Linked DNA regions of Homo sapiens: region 1 is linked to region 2. Evidence: promoter capture Hi-C in human tissues and cell types (Jung and others, 2019). All regions are on one chromosome and are shown on one strand. The core of a region is centred on a gene start or on the middle of the fragment in contact, and the rest is flanking DNA. Distances in the headings are between cores, read along the strand shown.

Evidence for each region. The method cuts DNA at HindIII sites, captures the fragments that hold promoters and counts their contacts. A contact is called where the count stands out against the background at its distance.
Region 1: a fragment that was not itself captured here is called in contact with the fragment with the promoter of OGFOD2 in region 2 in 1 of the 25 tissues and cell types used here (dorsolateral prefrontal cortex).

The regions. Positions count from the first base shown.
Region 1 is chr12:123,126,877-123,132,015 of GRCh38, forward strand. The region is part of intron 1 of PITPNM2 (phosphatidylinositol transfer protein membrane associated 2); the gene reads right to left. Among named protein-coding and RNA genes, the nearest start is that of PITPNM2, 22 kb to the right of the region's middle. RefSeq lists an enhancer at 772-1,383. The HindIII fragment of the contact is 4,327 bases long and covers 1-3,821 here.
Region 2 is chr12:122,973,405-122,976,609 of GRCh38, forward strand. It overlaps OGFOD2 (2-oxoglutarate and iron dependent oxygenase domain containing 2), which reads left to right and starts at 1,840. Exons shown (of 7, transcript NM_001304833.2): 1 at 1,840-1,979; 2 at 2,407-2,463. The coding sequence starts at 1,848. It also overlaps a transcript of ABCB9 not described here. RefSeq lists an enhancer at 1,285-1,744. The HindIII fragment of the contact is 12,569 bases long and covers 1-3,205 here.

The DNA.
Region 1 (5,139 bases), core at 408-2,907, 150 kb after region 2:
TGACAGCAGTGATGAAGCAGTGTCTGTTCTCTGGTTTCCAGCAGGAGCAAAAGATTTACTTCCAACAACCAGGCTCTGTTCACTGGGGTCTCGTCCAAACACTGCCCTCAGCATGGTGGTCTAGGGGATGCCAGGGCAAGGGACCACAAAGCTACAGGGAATTTCTGAGAGCCCTGCCCTTGGAGAATGCACGAATGGTTCATCCCTCCTCAAGTCACATCCATCATCCAGGATGAGTTGAGCTTGAAATAATGGACTTCCAGGCTCTGTGACAACGACTTAATGGTGCACAAATGTGTTCAAAACATTCTGGAAGAGTCCTCAGAATAACCCCACTGAGAGATGCTGAACACCCTGCATCACGCCACTTACACCGCTGCCCTCCATTTCCTGGGAGTCCAGGTCGCAGGGGACCCAGGAGGTGCTGGCAGCTGCCTGAACTGTCCGGGTGTTACTCTTGTTTCTAACCAGAAAATAAGGTCACTGGCGTGTTGATGCCCAAGCAAACAGGTGTTAGAGGTGCTCCTACCCATCAAATTCAACAATGGTTTCCACTGACGCATAGAAAAACAATGGTGTTTGCCTACTTATTTTGCAACAGGCTGCCATACTGTCTTATTCTAATTAATTTTGAGTTTGTCTACTTTGAAAACCTAAGACAACGGCTGTATCCACTCAAAACATTCATTTTGCAACCTCCTATCTGAGAGTTATGCCCTGCCTCTTTTTCTTTCTTTTTTTTTTTTTTTTTGAGACGGAGTCTCGCTCTGTCGCCCAGGCTGGAGTGCAGTGGCGTGATCTCGGCTCACGGCAACCTCTGCCTCCCGGGTTCACGCCATTCTCCTGCCTCAGCCTCCCAAGTAGCTGGGACTACAGGCGCCCGCCACCACGCCTGGCTAATTTTTTGTATTTTTAGTAGAGACGGGGTTTCACCGCGTTAGCCAGGATGGTATCAATCTCCTGACCTCGTGATCCGCCCGCCTTGGCCTCCCAAAGTGCTGGGATTACAGGCATGAGCCACCGCGCCCAGCCTGCCTCTTTTTCCTAGCCTGTTGCATTGGCTTGAATCTAGAATAAAGAACAGTACTAAAGAGAGAGAAGGCATGCTTGTCTTGCAACAGACATTAAAAGGAATGTGTCTTAGAGCAACAGTGCTTCCTAGATGTTATTTGGCCCTGGAATGCTTTTTTGATGCAATACCCAGGAGCATTCTGTGTTCCTCAAACATACTTTGGAAAATGCTACTAGAGCATTTGACTATTAAGGATAAAGTATCTGAGTGCGGTTGCTCATGCCTATAATCCTACCACTTTGGGAGGCCGAGGGGGATCACTTAAGCTCAGGCATTCAAGACCAGCCTAGTAAACATGGCGAAACCCCATCTCTACAAAAAAAAAAAAAAAAAAAAAAAAAAAAAAAAAAAAAAAAGCGGGCTCACACCTGTAGTCCCAGCTACTTAGGAGGCTGAGGTGGGAGAATCACTTGAGCACAGGAGGTGGAGGTTGCAGTGAGCTAAATCACGCCACTGCACTCCAGCCTGGGTGACAGAGCAAGACCCCGTCTCAAGTTAAAAAAAAAAAAAAAAAAAGGTGGGGGGGCAGGCGCAGTGGCTCATGCCTGTAATCTCAGCACTTTGGGAGGCTGAGGGGGGCAAATCACAAGGTCAGAAGATCGAGACCATCTTGGCTAACATGTTGAAACCCCGCCTCTACTAAAAATACAAAAAATTAGCTGGCCATAGTGGCACACGTCTGTAATCCCAGCTACTCGGGAGACTGAGGCAGGAGAATCATTTGAACCCAGAGACAGAGGTTGCAGTGAGCAAAGATCGCGCCACTGCACTCCAGCCTGGGCAATACAGTGAGACTCGATATCAAAAAAAAAAAAAAAAGATAAAGTAGCTACCGATGGGAGATATTCTTTATCATGTTGAAATATTTGCCTATCCCTCAGTCTCTACGTTTTTAAGATTAATGAGGCTGGGGCCAGTGGGCTCACGCCTGTAATCTCAGCACTTGGGAGGCCAAGAGGGCGTATCACCTGAGGTCAGGAGTTCAAGATTAGTCTGGCCAACATGGCGAAATCCCGTCTTTACTAAAAATACAAAAATTAGCCAGGTGTGGTGGTGGGCACCTGTAATTACAGCTACTCAGGAGGCTGAGGCAGAAGAATTGCTTGAACCCGGGAGGCAGAGATTGCAGTGAACCAAGATCACTGCCATTGCACTCCAGCCTGGGCAACAAAAGCGAAACTCAATCTCAAAAAAAGGAGTAATGAGGCTAGGCATGGTGGCGCACACTTGTAGTCCCAACTACTCGGCAGGCTGAGGCAGGGGAATCCCTTAAGCCCAGGAGTTCAAGGCCAGCCTGGGCAACATGGGAGTCCTGTCTCTAAAAAAATTAAATGGATAGGCCGGGCGTGGTGGCTCACGCCTGTAATCCCAGCACTTTGGGAGGCCGAGGCGGGCGGATCACGAGGTCAGGAGATCGAGACCATCCTGGCTAACACGGTGAAACCCCATCTCTACTAAAAATACAAAAAAAATTAGCTGGGCATGGTGGCGGGTGCCTGTAGTCTCAGCTACTCAGGAGGCTGAGGCAGAAGAATGGCGTGAACCCGGGAGGCGGAGCTTGCAGTGAGCCGAGATTGCGCCACTGCACTCCAGCCTGGGCAACAGAGAGACTCCGTCTCAAGAAAAAAAAAAAATTAAATGGATAGTGAACTTTATCAAATGCTTTTCTGGCATCAACTGAAAGCACAGTAGTTGTTTTATTTGTATATTTTTCTCTTTTTTCTTTTAGTAGATCTCCTAATATTTATGTTTCTGAGGCTGGCCCACAACCCAGCATAATGAGTCCTGTGCTGGGTACTTGTACTGGGGGAACACAGAGACACAGAAAAATGCATAGAGTTCTTGCCTACAGAGGAAACAGAGGGGAGAGGAACACGGGGAAAACAACACACACACATGAACATGCACACTCCTGCATACCATCTGAATGGCAGGCTAGTACTTGTGAATTTTGTTTTGCGTTTTTTTTTTTTTGAGATGAGGTCTTGCTCTGTTGCCCAAGCTGGAGTGCAGTGGTACGATCATAGCTCACTGCAGCCACAAACTCCTGGGCTCAAGTGATCCTCCCGCCTTGGCCTCCCAAGTGCTGGGACTACAGGTACACACCACCATACCCAGCTAATTTTTAAAATTTTCTGCAGAGATGGGGTCTCGATAAGTCGCCCAGGCCAGTAGTACTTGTGAATTAATGTGTCACACACAGGGCACAGTGAGGACCCCAGGGAACCACATATGAATCATGCTAATCCCAGAGGGCTTCCAGGAGATGGCACAGAGCATTTGGGGACAGGCTGGAAATGAGGGCCTATGGATTTCAGTCCTGCCTTGTGTGGGACGGAAGGGCACACTTTCCTGGCCCACAATTATCTCAGCAGTAAAACAGTAGAGATAATTATAGATGCAAAAGACCTTTGGAAACACCCAGCTCTGCCTCCTTCATTTGCAAACAGAAGCTAAGGTTGGGGGCAGGGTCATTTGCCCAAGGCCACCGAGCCATCCTTGTGTCCTTCTTGGCTCCAAGGGGAAGGGGAAGAGAAACAAAAGAAAGCTTTGATTGGCCCGGCAATCACGCCTGTAATCCCAGCACTTTGGGAGGCCGAGGCGGGCGGATCACGAGGTCAGGAGATCAAGACCATCCTGGCTAACATGGTGAAACCCCATCTCTACTAAAAATACAAAAAATTAGCCGGGCGTGGTGGCGGGCGCCTGTAGTCCCAGTTACTTAGGAGGCTGAGGCAGGAGAATGGCGTGAACCCAGGAGGCGGAGCTTGCAATGAGGCGAGATCGCACCACTGCACTCCAGCCTGGGTGACAGAGCGAGACTCCATCTCAAAAAAAAAGAGTTTTGAGATGCTGGGCAGAAAGGAAGGTGAGAACAGCCTTCCCTGTAATAAATGTAATTGCTTCTACCTGAAAAACTGGCTGAGTCAGGAGGTGGCCAGGGTGCTAAGCTTAGGGTGTAGAGGCCAGAAATAGGAGAGGCTTGGACAGGAAAAGGGGATGATCCTGGTGCTGTCCCCCACCCCACCCTCACATGCCTAGGGCACCAGAGACATCCCCACCTTCTATTCTACATCAATACACCTGAGCAGACATGTGAGGATGGCTTTCACATTCATTCATTCATTCAACAAATATGGAGATTATATGGGTTGAAGAATGTCCTCCCAAAACTCATATCCTTGTCAGAAACTCAGAATGTGACTTTACTTGGAAATAGGGTCACTGCAGATGTCATTAGTTAAGGTGAGGTTGCACTGGAGTAGAGTGAGCCCTAAATCCAATGACTGGTGTCCTTATAAGAGAAAAGTCACAGAGGCAGATAGACACAGAGGGAGACAACCATGTGACAACTTAGGCAGAGGTTGGAATTATGTGTCTTCAAGTCAAGGAATGCCAAGAATGGCCTGCAACCACCAGCAGCTAGGAGGGAGGCCGGGAACAGATACTCGTTGCGGTCTCTAGAAGCAACCAAACTGCCGAAACCCAAAATTTGGATGTGTGGCTTCCAGTACTGTTAGAGAATACATTTTCATTGTTTTAAGCCATCCAGTTGTGGTGGGTTGTTATGGCAGCCCTAGGGAATTAACACAGAGATATGGTAGTGCACAAGCCCCTGCATGCTTGCCCTAGGAGCAGAGGCTCCAGGAGGCAGAGGGAGAGTCTGGTTCCATCTGGAATCCCTCCAGGACATCACCCTTACTCTTGCCCCAGTCACAGAACCTCACCCTGCCAGCCAGCCACACCTTCCACTGCCCTTCCAGAGCAGCTCCTAGCCTGTGTCTGTGCTAGGTCCTGATGGAAGAAGCAGCCCCCAGCCAACTGTGACTGCTTACTGGAAGGGATCATCACATGTGCCAGACACAAGGATGAATCCAAGTGCCTGTCAAGCTCTGGGAGGTGCCAGGAACTGTGCTAGGCCCTTTCACATACATTCTCCTTTAAACCTCAGGACCAACCAGAGGCAGGAAGGAAAGAGAAGCTCTGAGAAAGCATGTGACCTGCTCAGGATCCCACAACATGTCCGTGGCAGAACCCTGCTCCACATTCAGGCTGTCTGCATGAGG
Region 2 (3,205 bases), core at 590-3,089:
ATACAAAAAATTAGCCGGGCGCGGTGGCGGGCGCCTGTAGTCCCAGCTACTCGGGAGGCTGAGGCAGGAGAATGGCGTGAACCCGGGAAGCGGAGCTTGCAGTGAGCCGAGATTGCGCCACTGCAGTCCGCAGTCCGGCCTGGGCGACAGAGCGAGACTCCGTCTCAAAAAAAGAAAAAAAAAAAAAAAAAAAAAAAAAAAAAAACAAAAACTTTGGGAGGCCGAGGCAGGGGGACCACGAGGTCAGGAGATCAAGACCATCCTGGCTAACACGGTGAAACCCCGTCTCTACTAAAAACATAAAAAATTAGCCGGGTGTGGTGGCGGGCGCCTGTAGTCCCAGCTACTCGGGAGGCTGAGCCAGGAGAATGGCGTGAACCCGGGAGGCAGAGCTTACAGTGAGCCGAGATCGTGCCACTGCACTCCAGCCTGGGCGACAGAGCAAGACTCCGTCTCAAAACAAACAAACAAACAAACAAAAAACAAAAAAATTAGCTGGGCGTGGTGGCGCCTGCCGATAATCCCAGCTATTCGGGAGGCTGAGGCAGGAAAACTGCTTGAATCCGGGAGGCAGAGGTTGCAGTGAGCGGAGATCGCGCCACTGCACTCCAGCCTGGGTGAAACTCTATCTCAAAAAGTAAATAAACAAATAAATAAACTGATAGGTACAACACACTCATCTTGCAAACTGCTGCAAACGGAGAGGGGGTGAGGGTGGGGTGGGGTGCTGCATGTGCCAGGCCTGCCTGGTGGGTGGCTGGGGAGCCGACCTGCCCTGGGCCTCCTGGGGAAAAAGGGCAGTTAGGCGGGTAATGAACATTGATCTGGGGAAATGGATCCTTTCCTAGATAGCAGGGCCTCTCACTATCACTGGGCAATCAAGACGACTGTAAAACGTTAAACACCTTCTCGGGCCGGGCAGCTCTGCACGAGAAAACCCCAAATCCCACATACTTCCACCACTCCCAGAAGCCCTGTGGTGGTTAACTGGGGAACTCTGTAGGGTTCAAACGCCATATTTGCCCCTTACTGGATGTGTGACCTGCGGCGGGTCCCTGTGCCTCTCTGGGTCTCAGTTTCCTCATCTGTAAGACGGTGATATAATAGTACCTAGCTCAAAGGTTTAATGCTGGTAGATTCCTGAGCAAAGGTCCGGGGAGAGAAGAGGCTCGGTCTGCAAGAGTTGTCATTTGTTGGCTGCGGTGAGACCACGCCCCGTCGCCCTCCCACACCTGACCCCGCCCTCCCGCGTCCATTGGGAACGCCACCGGAAGTAATGCGAGACGGAGCGTTTTGGTGGAGACACTCACTGGGGCAATCTGAGGTAATCCAACAGACTGTGGCGGAGGGACCGGAAGCGCCAGGCAGGGACCCGGGGTAGATGCTAAATCCAAACTGAAACGTACAGGGCTGGATGATTGAAGCACCAGCGGGAACTAGTCGGACCTCCGAGCTCTTTAAACTGTCCTCAGCTCGGCTGGTTCTCCACGAGCTCCGGGCAGACGGCGGGGGGTGGGTCGGCGTTTAAGTCAAAGGCCTTGGGGCTCCGAGTCCCTTCCTCTCCCCGTCCTGTGAAGGCACGACCCAGTTCAGCTGTCTGTAAAGTGGAGCCATTAGTCCCTGCCTCGTAGTGGGAAAACTGGGAGGCGGAACGAGGAGGCCGCCGGTCCCAACCCGGCCCAGGAGCATCTTTCTCCGCAGACCGTTTCCTGGCGAGGTGCGTCTTCGTCCTTTTCCGCCCTTGGGAACTTAGAGCGGCCCCTTGGCCGCTGGTTCCGCGCCTCCCGCGGTTGGGGGCGTGCCCGAAGTCTCTCTACGGAAGCTGGTAGGGCTGTGGGTGCTTCACTATGGCGACGGTGGGGGCTCCGCGGCACTTCTGCCGCTGCGCCTGCTTCTGCACCGATAACTTGTACGTGGCGCGCTATGGGCTGCACGTGCGCTTCCGAGGCGAGCAGCAGCTGCGCCGGGACTACGGCCCGGTGAGTGGCCGCTGTCGTCCCTACGGAGCAGTGGGCAGAGAGGGGTAGTGGAGGAGGGAAGTTCGTCCCCAGGGTCGTTTGCTTTGCGCACGCCGCGCACCGTATCTTCAAATACAAGAATGACGGCCTCTCTCTGCCTCGGTTTTCTCACCGTAAAGGGGTAATAGTATCTCCCTGTGAGATTGTGAGGAAGGAATGAACAAGCATGTAGGGTGCTTAGGACAGGGCCGGGCTCAGCTTGCCGCCTCACAGCAACACCAGCCCGGAGCCCTGTCCTGAGCTTGACAGGGTTCCGCAGTTCATTCTCTCCATGATCCTTTGAGGTCGGGGCTCCTCTCCCCATTTTAAGCAGGGGAAACTGAGGCTTAGAGAGTGAAGGGATTTCCTCAGGTCATACAGTCATGCTCAGTGTTCTTTCTGCTCCCAGATCCTGCGCAGCCGAGGCTGTGTTAGCGCCAAGGACTTCCAGCAGCTGTTAGCAGAGGTACCAGTCCCCTGCCCCTGCACAGCTCCTCCTCGTTAGATTTGTGTCCGCAGCTTGAGGACACAGCTTGAGCCTAGCCTCAGTCCCTGATCCCTGAAGGGTCACTTAGGCCCTCACTTTCCTCCTTCCTGCCCCCCACTCATCCCTCCACACCTGAGTCTTGGCACCAGGAGAGAGAAGGGGAAATGCTAAGTTGCTAAGTTGCCTAGTCATGCCGTTCTTAACAGCTCTGTGAGATAAGCACAAGCACCACTCTCATTTTGGATTGAGAAGCTGAGGCTTAAAGAGGGATCCCTTGCCCAAGCTTTTACAGCAGGAGCAGATGTGATCCCAGCCACAGCTTCCAGGCCCCTGGGCTCCTCACACCTTACCATATACCCCGCAGGCTGCTGCCAGGGCTGCTGCCCCACTCCCTCCTCCTCCTTCCCCTGGAGTCAGTGGTGGGAAGCTTCCCAGGAGAGTCCTCAGCAACCTCTGGAACACAGGACTTGGCCATGACTGTCTCCTGTCCCTGTGTGGGCCCAGATGGTTGAGGTACATCTAGGGGTTCTCATCCCAGCTAGGCTCAGGTTGGGGCAGCCTGAAACAGGATGGGTCCCCTTCTAGAAGTCCCTTTCAGCTAACAGTCTGGAACTTGCAGTTGACCCAGATAGATTCAGGAGTGTAGGCTAGACTTGGCTTCCAGCCTGGGCCCTGTCTGGCGTTCTGGGCTTCAGTTTCTTCATCTGTACAGTGGCCTCAG